2 separate regions of the Homo sapiens genome follow, and region 2 is linked to region 1. Evidence: promoter capture Hi-C in human tissues and cell types (Jung and others, 2019). All regions are on one chromosome and are shown on one strand. Each heading gives the region's core, a stretch centred on a gene start or on the middle of the fragment in contact. The rest is flanking DNA. Distances are from core to core; before and after follow the strand shown. Region 1 overlaps TUBA1C (tubulin alpha 1c). Region 2 holds the start of WNT10B (Wnt family member 10B).

Region 1 (6,156 bases), core at 2,328-4,827:
GGGAGCTCTACTGCCTGGAACACGGCATCCAGCCCGATGGCCAGATGCCAAGTGACAAGACCATTGGGGGAGGAGATGATTCCTTCAACACCTTCTTCAGTGAAACGGGTGCTGGCAAGCATGTGCCCCGGGCAGTGTTTGTAGACTTGGAACCCACAGTCATTGGTGAGTTGACCTCAGTAACCCAAGTGAGATCCCAGGGTGCTGGGACAGGAGGTCTGTCCTGGGGGGGCTCCGCTGGTCACTCACCCACTCTCCCTCCCCGCTCCTTGTCCCTCCTCCTCCTCCCCCATCATGTTCTCCAGATGAAGTTCGCACTGGCACTTACCGCCAGCTCTTCCACCCTGAGCAACTCATCACAGGCAAGGAAGATGCTGCCAATAACTATGCCCGAGGGCACTACACCATTGGCAAGGAGATCATTGACCTCGTGTTGGACCGAATTCGCAAGCTGGTAAGTATAGTACTTTAAATAAAGTGGGATGAGAGTTTCTTTTGCAGTTCTGAGACCAAACTACAGAAATCATTCTTTGCAACTAAAATGAGACTATTTGCATTGCAACTAAAATGTATCTGTTCACTAAATTAATTGGATTTCTGAACCAGATGATCTTGGATTTATGGGACAACTATGGGGTAGAAGTAAGTGCTCTTTAGCCTATTTTGCTTCAAGCTGAGACACCCCTTTTGAGGTCATCTTAGTCATACTGAGTGAGTAGGTAGCTGACTTCTACATGTAACTAATTGATCAGAGTCATTTTTTAAAAATCTGGGATGGTTCCTTCATGTCAATACAGAAAGTTCAGAGAACAAGAAGCCAGTGTCACACTGACAAGAAACAGCCAATACTGGAAACTTCCAGTACTGCTGAAAGTGGAGTCGGGAGCTTCCTTATGAAGTGTGCTGTTTGGATCACTTTAATTAAGAGCCTGGCAATCAGATGACTCTTTGCTCCTTAGGCATGTGGGCAGCTTGTAAGTAATTAACCAGAGATCAAGCATGATGGTCTGGGCAGAGTAACTTGTCAAGAAAATCACATTGTATTAAGCCCAGCCATGACTGCTCCATTCTAAAATAGAATAGCCTCATCATTCATGGCTTCATACTTTCTCAGATGTTTACGTAGTCTTCCCAGCAAAACTGGACTGATGTTTCCGATGCTTAAAAACTAAGCTTTAGGCTGGGCACGGTGGCTGACATCTGTAATCCCAGCACTGGGAGGCCAAGGTGGGCGGATCATGAGGTCAGGAGATCGAGACCATCCTGGCTAACATGGTGAAACCCTCTCTACTAAAAATACAAAAAAATTAGCCGGGCGTGGTGGTGGGCGCCTGTAGTCCTAGCTACTAGGGAGGCTGAGGCAGGAGAATGGCGTGAACACGGGAGGCGGAGCTTGCAGTGAGCCGAGATCGTGCCACTGCACTCCAGCCTGGGCGACAGAGTGAGACTCCATCTCAAAAAAACAAACAAACAAAAAAAACCCTAAGCTTTAGTTATAAGCACTGACTTGGAAAATCAGGGACCTGCCTTTAGGACAAATAAACCTAGTAGCTATTTAGGGTTCTGGAACGTGAGGTTTATTGCCTACCAAAACAATTGCATTTGTCCTTGTCATTACTGTGCTCACAGGAGGCTTAACTGGTGTAATTGGTAGGCGAGAGTCTGCCCTGTGCATTGATCTCATGTAGTTGATGGACCCACAGGCTATAAGGGAGCTGAGTAGAGAATGTTCACAAATCTGAGGCCCATCACTTGGAGAAGCAAGAGTTTACAACAGAATACTTTATTTGGAAGGTCAAAATCATTCCTTCGTAAAGTAGCAGTTTGCTAACCAAAATAGCCCAGTTAGGTGGAGGAAATCCCCAACAACCTGAGGTCTCATGGAATTGTGGTTGTGTCACTTTACCCAAAATAAATGGGCTTCTTGGTACCTAGTGTCATATATTGGCTTACTGGGCCAATACTGTGCTTACTGTGCCAAGCACTATGCTGAGTACTTACTTAATTCTCAACCTAAGGTGATTACTATTCTCACTTAATCAGTGGAAGAACTGAGAAATGAATGTGGTCATACAGTAAGGAACTGGTACAGCCGGATCCTGACACAGCCTGACTCCAGTACCAGGGTGTTAGAACTTTGGCTATTCTGTTGTTCCACCTCAGAAAGCAGCTGCCAAATCTTTACAAGACATCCACTGTACCAGGCTGGTGGTCCTGGGCCTGCCCCTTAGGACCTCTCCAACTAAGAAACTGCCCTGTTCTGTGGCCACAGCAAGAGAACCAGAGGCTGCCTTCCCAGTTACCAAAACTTGAGCCCTGTATGCAAGCCCAGGCCTTGTGATTCCTCTGCCTAAGGCAATAGTTCATCTTAAAATAGTCTTAGCAAAGGTTTTTCTGCTCAAGGACTTGATTGTGAAAAGTTGTTCTGAATCACTTAGCACTTAAAAGCTTTTTTTTTTTTTTGGAGACAGGGTCTGCTCTGTCATCCAGGCTGGAGTGCAGTGGCCTGATCATCAGTCTTGAACCCCTGGGCTCAAATGCAAATGGTCCTCCCACCTTGGACCCCCAAAGTGTTGATTACAGGCGTGAGCCACTGCGCCTGGCCCAGAAGAGTTTTAAAATTGCAATTGGAGTAGCCATAGATTTATAGAAGTCCTCTGTAGGTTTCACCAAATGTGAACACTAAATGAAACTTTCGCAACACTAAAATGAAACTTTTTTATTTTGCAGGCTGACCAGTGCACCGGTCTTCAGGGCTTCTTGGTTTTCCACAGCTTTGGTGGGGGAACTGGTTCTGGGTTCACCTCGCTGCTCATGGAACGTCTCTCAGTTGATTATGGCAAGAAGTCCAAGCTGGAGTTCTCCATTTACCCGGCGCCCCAGGTTTCCACAGCTGTAGTTGAGCCCTACAACTCCATCCTCACCACCCACACCACCCTGGAGCACTCTGATTGTGCCTTCATGGTAGACAATGAGGCCATCTATGACATCTGTCGTAGAAACCTCGATATCGAGCGCCCAACCTACACTAACCTTAACCGCCTTATTAGCCAGATTGTGTCCTCCATCACTGCTTCCCTGAGATTTGATGGAGCCCTGAATGTTGACCTGACAGAATTCCAGACCAACCTGGTGCCCTACCCCCGCATCCACTTCCCTCTGGCCACATATGCCCCTGTCATCTCTGCTGAGAAAGCCTACCACGAACAGCTTACTGTAGCAGAGATCACCAATGCTTGCTTTGAGCCAGCCAACCAGATGGTGAAATGTGACCCTCGCCATGGTAAATACATGGCTTGCTGCCTGTTATACCGTGGTGACGTGGTTCCCAAAGATGTCAATGCTGCCATTGCCACCATCAAAACCAAGCGTACCATCCAGTTTGTGGATTGGTGCCCCACTGGCTTCAAGGTTGGCATTAATTACCAGCCTCCCACTGTGGTGCCTGGCGGAGACCTGGCCAAGGTACAGAGAGCTGTGTGCATGCTGAGCAATACCACAGCTGTTGCCGAGGCCTGGGCTCGCCTGGACCACAAGTTTGACCTGATGTATGCCAAGCGTGCCTTTGTTCACTGGTACGTGGGTGAGGGGATGGAGGAAGGCGAGTTTTCAGAGGCCCGTGAGGACATGGCTGCCCTTGAGAAGGATTATGAGGAGGTTGGAGCAGATAGTGCTGACGGAGAGGATGAGGGTGAAGAGTATTAACCTGTGTGCTGTACTTTTACACTCCTTTGTCTTGGAACTGTCTTATTTTTGTTCTGTAAATGTCTATTGCCGTAAATTGTTAATAAAATTGAAGTTTCCATTTTAAATGTCGAGCTGACTTAAATACTTGATCCAGTTAAAGTTGGATGTATGAGGCTGGTAGATGAAACCACCTGAGTCGAGGGTCTTGCTCTGTCACCCAGGCTGGAGTGCAGTGGCATGATAATACATAGCTCATTGCAGCCTCGAGCTCCTGGACTCATGTGATTCTCCTGCTTCAGCCTCCTAAGTAGCTGGGGACTGCAGGTGCACACCACCATGCCCAGCTATTTTTATTTCTTGTAGAGATGGGGCCTTGCTATGCTGCCCAGGGTGGTCTTCAACTGGCTTCAAGTGATCCTCCTGCCTCAACCTCTCAAAGTTTTGATTATAGGCATGAGCCACTGCCCAGCTTCTTGGTTTATCTGTTTAATTTGGGCCTGAATTAAGTGGTTATAGAATCATTTTGTAAGTGAGGAAACGGGTTCAGATTGAGCCAGTGCTTCTCTAACTAAAATGGATGTGAATCACCTGTAGATATTAAAATGCAGGTTTGGGGTCAACCTGGTGGCTCATGCACTTCGGGAGGCCAAGTTGGGTGGATCACGAGCCCAGGAATTCGAGACCAGCCTGGGCAACATGGTGAAAACCCATCTCTACCAAAACAAAAATTTGCATGCTGTGATGGCACCTGCCTATAGGTGGGAGGACCACCTGAGCCCAAGGAGGTTGAGGTAGTGAGCCATGATTGCACCACTGCATTCCAGCCTGGGTGACGGAGACCCCTGACTCTCAAATTTAAAAACAAAATGCAGGTTCTAATTCTATAGGCTTGAGGTGAGGCTTCAGACACGTCTTAAATTTTTTTTCTTTGAGATGGTCTCTTTCCCAGGCTGCAGTGCAATGGCACCATCATAGCTCACCCCCACCTTGACCTGGGCTAAGCCATCCTCCCACCTCAGCCTCCCAAGTAGCCAGGACTACAGGTGTGTTCCACCATGCCTGGCTGATTCTTGTAATTTTTTTTTTTTTTTTTTTTTTTTTTTTTGGTAGAGATGGGGTTTTGCCATGTTGCTTAGGCTGGCCTTGAACTCCTGGGCTCAGGCAATCCTGCCTCAGCCTCCCAAAGTGCTGGGATTACAGGAGTGAGCCACTACACCTGGCCCCTAGATACGTTTTTTAATAACCTCCCAAATGATGCTGTTGGTCTGATGTGACCACATGTACAGTAGCAAAGGGTTAGATAACAGTAACTGCTGGAGCCAAAATTCAAGTGCCCAGCCACACTGCCAGAACTATTGCTGTCAGTCTTTAATAAAGTATTAGTCACACGAGAAGGGCTTGGAATCCTGATTTATTCCATACTTAGCTAAGACCTACAGTGGCAAAGATGGTTCGTACTAAAGGGGTTATTGTTTAGAGAAAGTGGAAATGTCAGACAAAATAACAGTCACCGGTTTTTCTGGTATTGGCATTTGACCCAATTGTATGTCATGGAGATTATTTGAAGTAGGAGTAATATGTATGTGTAGGAAAGATTGGAGAGGGGTGAGTTCTCTGATTTGGACTTTTTTCCAAGCACCTGTTGGAGGACCGTGGTTCTTGGGGGCAGACGGGTGAAGGGGCATGAGTGTTATACGTAGCTGGAGAGCTTGGTGCCTGGTACTCAGTTGAACTAAGCAATGGGAAAGGACAATGACCAAAAGGTGAAGCTTCATGCAGAAGGGAGGAATCAGTTTTGGTGCTTGGGTGCTTGCCTGAGTGGGAATGCCTAATGAGTGGTAGCAGATGGGCCCTGGGGGCAGAGTTGCAGGCATACTCACCTCTCCTCCGTGACTTACTTTATTCTGATGTGTACCCAGTTACCATCTCTTTCCCAAAGGTGTTTTGTATCCCTTACCCATTGCTCACTTTAGCCCCTTTGCTCTGAGAATTGCATCTGAAAGATGTGCATGTTTAAGGCCAGCGCTGGGGTTCACAGCTGCAGTCCCAGCACTCTGGGAGGCCAAGGTGAGAGGATTGCTTAAACCCAAGAGTCTGAGACCAGTGCCTGGGCAAGAGGGTGAGACCCTGTCTATTTTGAGCATTTTTTTGGCCGGGTACCATGGCTCACGCCTGTAATCCCGGCACTTTGGGAGGCTGAAGCAGGTGGATCACTTGAGCTTAGGAGTTCAAGACCAGCCTGGGCAATATGGTGAAACCCCATCTCTACTAAAAATACAAACAATTAGCTGGGCATGGTGGTGCACGTCTGTGGTCCCAGCTGCTTGAGAGGCTGAAGTGGGAGGATTGCTTGAGCCTGGGAGGTGGAGGTAGCAGTGAGCTGAGATCGTGCCACTGCCCTCCAGCCTAAGGGACAAAAAATTTTTTTCCCTTAAATTTTTTTTTATGTCTCAAATTTTTTTAAATGTA
Region 2 (6,156 bases), core at 1,567-4,066, 300 kb before region 1:
TGCCCTTCAAGACTGCCCTTTTTATGTTTATCCTAACCTGCTATTACCCTATAAAACACTGAGAGGAGGAGAGAGGTTGGGGAGTGATTTTCCCTAAGGCCCTCTTAAAAGGTTGGCTTCTTTGTTATGTTTTGGGGGTCACAGAAGCTCAGGCTGCCAAGCCTTTCCCAGACTTAAATAAACATGCTCACCATTTGGGTGTCCAAGCCTTCCCCTACACCAGGCCCTGTGGGGAAGGAGGGGGACCCTCACTTCATTTTAGGCAGGGGCTCTCCGGAGCCCTGAGAAGACGAGAGACAGCACCCGCTTAGAGACCAGGCCTCTGCTACCCCAGGATCTAGGGCTCCTGGGCCAGCCTTCTGATCCCCCTAACTCCAACCCTCCAGGGGTGAAGCTGTTTGCACAAGTCTTGGGAATTCCCCTGCAGATGGCAGCTGCCTATTAACCCCATAGTCCCCAGAGCACTGCCCCCATCTCTGGGCTGAGCCCCCATGGGTCTTTACACCTCAGGGAGTGAACTCCAGTGGGAAACCAGGAGAGGCAGCCATGCCTCCCAGACCAGGCCAGCAGTGACCTGTTCTCTGCCTCTCCAGCCGTTCTTCACCTGCTCAGGTGAGCAACACCTGGAGCCCCCACAGCACAGAGGAGGGGACTGGCTCCCCAGCTTCAAAGTCATCAGGGTCTTTGTTCCCAGCTTTGGCTCCTGGGAACCCCAGCAATTAGGGGAGCAGATTTAACCCTTAAACGGTTGGGGGCGTCACCCCACCCCCGCTGAGACACTGGGGACACCAGCCTGGGCTTGTCCAGCCAAGATGGGGGGAGAGAAAATGGTGGAGGGAATAGGGGGGCGTTTGAAGCTTCCAGGACTGGGGGCATCTCTTGTTCACAGGTGCAACCCAGATTAAGCTGAGCGGAGGCAGGAAAGGGGGGCCCTAGGGTAGGAGAGCAGGGACCCAGCTGCCTCGCTGGCAGCACGCAGGTGGAAGTTAGGCGCGCAGGGGCCCAGACGAGTGGCCAGACCTGGCTCAGAGCGGCTCCGGGGGGGGCGGGGAATTCCAGGAGAGGCCCCTCCCGGAGCCGCGAAACCATCCCTTCCCGCCTCCGCGCGCCTCGCCCTGCCGCCCACCCCCTAGCCTCCGCGGCAGCGCCGACCCGCCCAGCCAGGCTCACCGCGCTTGAGGATGGCGCTGTGGTGCGGCAGGCGGCCGCCGCCCTCAAGCGCGGAGCAGTTCCAGCGCTGGTCGCGCAGCTGGTGCTGACACTCGTGGACCGCGATGTGCAGACCCTGAAGCGCGGACGCCGTCACGTCGGGGTTGCGCAGGCACAGGCCTAGCTGCCGCTTGCTCAGGCCGGACAGCGTCAAGCACACGGTGTTGGCCGTCAGCGGCGGCTCGCCAGGCAACTTCAGGCCCAGAATCTCATTGCTTAGAGCCCTGGGAACCAAGAAGGCGTCTGGGGTCTGCGGTCCAGACCCCTCCAACTCTCCCCACCCCGGGTCGGTGTTTCTATGGCCTGGGAGACAAGGGGAACTGCTCACCGACTGCACAACGCCAGGAACAGGAGACCCGCGAGGCCCGAGGGCGGAGGCCGCGGCCGGGGCTCCTCCAGCATGTCGAAGCCCGGAGGCTCCGGTGGGCAGATCGATCAGGACCTGCGGGACGGGAGACTTGATGCGGGTTCAGGAATAGGGCGGCTCGCTTGGGGAACCAAGTGACGCCCTTCTTCGGGCTCCTAACCCACCGGTGCCACCCTACTGACCCTTCTCATTCCTCCTCAAACAAAACAAGAAGAAACACCCCTTGATTCCCAGAGTCCCTGAGGCTTGGAGGTCTTAAAGAAGAAGAGTCAAGGCGTTGTCCCAGCTCAGGACTCAAGCGAGCACCCCTGGAACCTTGCCCAATCAGACACAACGCCCGGCACACAGACACACACTCACTTGCAAACTCAGACACACAGACTCACAAACACTTGCTCCACAACCTCGCCTACTGCTCCCTTTTCCAGGGCCCCACGACTAGCTTCCCCGCCCTCACAGGGCTAGGGAGAGGGATAGGGAGGAGGTTCCCCACCACCTAAGGGGGTGTCACCTCCAGGTGTCATCAAGGGCAAGTAGGCTCCATGAGAAAGGTCTAAGAATGAGTTCCCCACTCACACTGCCCCCTCCCTGAGCAGCAAGGAAAGAGGAGAGGCTCCAGGTGCAGGAAAGATGGGGAGGAGAGCCTGGCTCCCTCCTAAAAGGGACCGTGGCACAGACTGAGTCCTCTTCCCTATCCCCCACCTTGCCTAACTACAAGCTCCCCTCCTCCATAGTCGCCCGTCTGGTCCTCACCCCTTGGCTCTCACATTCATTGCATTCTAAATCTGGGGGCACTCCTTTATTCTCTGTGTCTTTATCTCTAGCAATATCTCTGGCTCTCTATGCGTCTCTGTGCTTCTGTGGGTGGATGCGTGTCTGTCTGTCTGTCTGACTACACACGTGCCTGTCTCTTCCTCGTGTGCACGTCCCTGCCCTCCCTGCTTTCCCAGGTCTAATTACCTCCAGTGGTTTGGGTGCGGGGTCCGAGACAGGCACGGTTGGGTTGCCTGGGCTTCACTAGTGCTGCTTAAACCGTGGGGAGACTGCGCTGGGTTCTGTCCCCTTGTCAGAGCCGCATTCTTCCAGGGCCGGGCCACTCCTCTTCACCGCTTCCCCAGCGCCGCCGCGGCCGCCGGGAGGAAGGGAGGGAGGAAGGGAGGGAGTGATCGAGAGAGCTAGCAAGCCGGCGAGCAAAGGACTGGGGGCTCTGGCTTTGCTCTCACCGAGCTCAGGGTGGCTCTGCCGGGCTGACGGAGCTGCAGCCCCTCCCCGAGCCTGGGGCTTCCCCACCCTACCCTCCACTCCCAGCCTTGACCAGGCGAATGCAGCCTCCCCCTCCTCCCAGCGCGCGCGCGCGCGCGCGCGCGCGCACACACACACACACACACACACACACACACACACACTCTCTCTCTCTCACACACCCTCTCCCCCGACGCCTGGGTTCAGGCTTGGCCCCACTGAAGAAGGAGGTGGCCAGAGTTCCTCTCACCTGATCTGGGGTCGCCAAGGCTGCAGGGAGGGTGTAGTAACCTTCCTAGGGAGCCAGAATGGGGCCCAGATGGCCACATCTTTCATCACTCCTCTTTGCGTCAGTTTCTCCACCAAGATCAGGGTGGCTGGAAGGTGCCTTTGACAAGATGAGGATGGAGCCAGACAGTCTTTGGGCTTCTCGGTGTGGGACAGTCACATGTGGCACCCACAGCCTGAGCGCACCCGGGGTACTCAGAGCGGGCAGGAGAAGCACACGTCTGGGCAGCTTGGTTCCCACCCTCCTCCAAGCCCTGCGCCTGCCCCTTTGGAGGGGACAGCTTTGGCCTCAGAGTTTGGCCCTAGCAGAGGTTCAAGTAGCACCAAAGATTGTCAGCCTGCCCCGATGCTTCCTTGCCTGGCAGGGATGCTTGCCAACAGAGGTATCCTACCCTTCTCGGGATTCCCCCGGTCTGCACTTTGGGTGGCCTGGATTCCTGCTCCAAGCTGTAGACTTGCTTCTTATGGGATGAGGAGGGCCTTGGGATCCAAAATTGAGCCAAGCCCAAGGGCAGCCGGGAAAGAGCCTGGTCTTGGGGTGCACAGGCAAAGGCAAACCGCCTTAGGGAGACCCAGTGGCAGCGAACGGGTTAGGCGCCACCGTGCTCCCGCCTGACTCACCCTCGAAGCTCTAACCACTGTGGGCTATTTTTGCCAGAGAGGGGCCCCAGGCTTTCCAGCCGCCCCCCGCCCCTGCCAGACCGCAGCCCAAGGCACGGCTGGCCCCACGCGCCCCAGGCACATTGACTCAGACTGCCCCCAAGCAAGCAGAGGAACAGGGATGATACCCACAACCACAGTCACCTCTTCCTTGGTGGTGGCGTTGCAGCTCTGCTGGGCAGCCAGCCTCCAGTCTGTGCTGCTGGAGGTCCTGCCCGTGCTGCAGGGGTCACTGTTGGATAGCGGGCACAGCAGTCTGAGACAGGAGATCGAGCAAACTTACATCTGTTGGGATATTTACAGATCACCTTTACGTGCCAGGCTGTGAGCAGTCTGGGGAGGTGAAAGTGCCATGGTCCCTGACACTGGACAGCCTGGACCAGACTGCTTTTCTCTGATTCCCTACCTCTGGGATGGGGAAGTGGGAGCACTAGAGTTCCTGACCCTCCTTCCCATTTAGAGGACAAGAGCCAAACCATGTGTGGTTTTGGAGGTCACCAGAATCTGCAAGCCCCATCTCATAGTTTTCATCCTTACACCTGGATTCATGATCCCCACCAGTGTCCTTATCCTTTTTCTTGCAGTCACCCTGGGATTCCTGCCAGGTCCTTGGAAGAGGGGAATGAGGTTGCCTAAGCCTCTCTTCTCCATGGGGACCTCATGGACATTTGTATTTCTCCATGTGTCTCTGGGTCCCCCTTAGGTTTGGGATTATTTTTTGCCTTCTGATTCTACCCTTGTCAGGCTCCAGCATACAGCCAGGTGCCAAGAAGGGGCGAGGGGCAGAACTACTACAATAGGTTTCAACTTCCTGGTGACCCTAGGTCTCCCCAAGCAGGACTGTTCCAAATCCAAGGACCCAGAGTCCTGCTCCTTCTCTCTACTGAAGCCCAACTCTGGGACAAGAGGCCACAGGCCGGCAGACTGGGTGGCCTGAGCTGGCCCGCAGTGCCCTCAGCCCGACCGGCTGGCCTGAGCACTGACCCGCAGGCGGCTAGAGGGCGGTGGGACAGGCGGGGCCTGGAGAGGGCTGTGGGTGCACACCCATTGCCTAATACCCCAAGCACGCGGCCAGCTCCAAGAAAGGGGAGGGACGGGAACCAGAGAGACCTTGACGTGGGTCAGGGCCAATGACAGGAGGGGGAAAGTGGGGGGCTTTCATCACTGCAGGGAGGGACTAGGAGCAAGCTGGTTCCCCTTCCCCTCAATGAGAAGAGTGGAGGGCTGCCCTTCCCATCCTAGGGATGGAGGGTGTAACGAGAGCAATGTGGGAAGAACACTGGGGCCCTGGAGGGCGGGGGTCAAAGAAAAGAGTGGGGGCCCCTGGAGATTGGGGGATGTCGAGCAACTGAGGCGGTGGCTAAAGCCTCAGAAGCCTCCTCCTCCTCCTCCCCCCATGTTTGCCTTGGCCCGGGGTCCCGGGTGACTCATCTGTTGCTGAGCCGCTGATAGGGGAGGCCAGACCCGGGGAACCCAAATTATAGGCCCAGGAGGGATGGATGCGCCCGTGGCGGTGAGCTCAGCTGCGCTGCCCACCCTCCGCTTAATGCGCCTTCTGCTGCAGCACCGTAGGCCACCACCTGGAGGCACCAAAGGGTCTGCGGGCCGACTGCATACTGGACTCTCAGGAAGGCCCCACTTTCAGCAGTCCACTCCAACAAATCCATGGGATTACCTTAGACAGAATTTTGCCCCCTTCTGTACTCAGGCCTAATGGATGGGCTGTGCCTTCCCAGCCCAAGGGGGCAGTGCTGCCTGCGGGTGCTTCAAAGGAGGGTAGGCTCCTCTGCCCACAAACTCTAAACCCTGGAGCCCTGCTTCCTCCCCAGATCCCAAAGTCAAGGCAAAGCCCCTCTCCCCTCTAACATCTCACCTCTAACCCTATTCCAGGGGGGTGGTTTGCTACTGATTTTCAACTTCAAGCCTTTAAAGTCATCCACGGTCAAAACTGATACAGAGAAAAATGAAGCAGGGTAAAGGAGATTAGTAGTGGGATTCTATTTTATAAAGGGGGAGGGAAAACAAACTGAAGGAACAAATACATGGAGAGATCTGAGGAAGAGCATTTTAGAAGACAGAAAAGCAGGTGCACAGACCCTTAGAAAGGAGCATGCTTGGTTCAAAGGATTAGAAAAGAGGCCAGTGAGGCTAGTGGGGAGAAATTCGCAAGGAAGAGAGTGGTAGGCAATGAAGCTGGAGGGCTAGGAAGGAGGCCCCTTTACTTTGAGTGACATGGGGTCTCGCTGGAAAATTTTGAGCAGAGAAATGAACTAATCAGACTTCTGTTTTAGGAAAGATGGCTCTGGGCTGGGCGCAGTGGCTCATGCCTGTAATCCCAGTACTTTGGGAGGCCGACGTGGGCAGATCACGAGGTCAGGAGTTCGAGACCA

The links. The method cuts DNA at HindIII sites, captures the fragments that hold promoters and counts their contacts. A contact is called where the count stands out against the background at its distance.
Region 2: the fragment with the promoter of WNT10B here is called in contact with a fragment that was not itself captured in region 1 in 1 of the 25 tissues and cell types used here (heart left ventricle).

What each region holds. Positions count from the first base shown.
Region 1 is chr12:49,269,523-49,275,678 of GRCh38, forward strand. TUBA1C (tubulin alpha 1c) reads left to right here. Exons shown (of 4, transcript NM_032704.5): 2 at 1-165; 3 at 306-454; 4 at 2,731-5,078. The coding sequence ends at 3,705. Among named protein-coding and RNA genes, the nearest start is that of TUBA1C, 7.5 kb to the left of the region's middle. RefSeq lists a silencer at 4,464-4,758. The HindIII fragment of the contact is 6,713 bases long and covers 222-6,156 here.
Region 2 is chr12:48,968,919-48,975,074 of GRCh38, forward strand. It overlaps WNT10B (Wnt family member 10B), which reads right to left and starts at 2,817. Exons shown (of 5, transcript NM_003394.4): 1 at 2,537-2,817; 2 at 1,538-1,651; 3 at 1,171-1,433. The coding sequence starts at 1,611. RefSeq lists silencers at 1,041-1,120, 2,588-2,882. The HindIII fragment of the contact is 13,431 bases long and covers 1-6,156 here.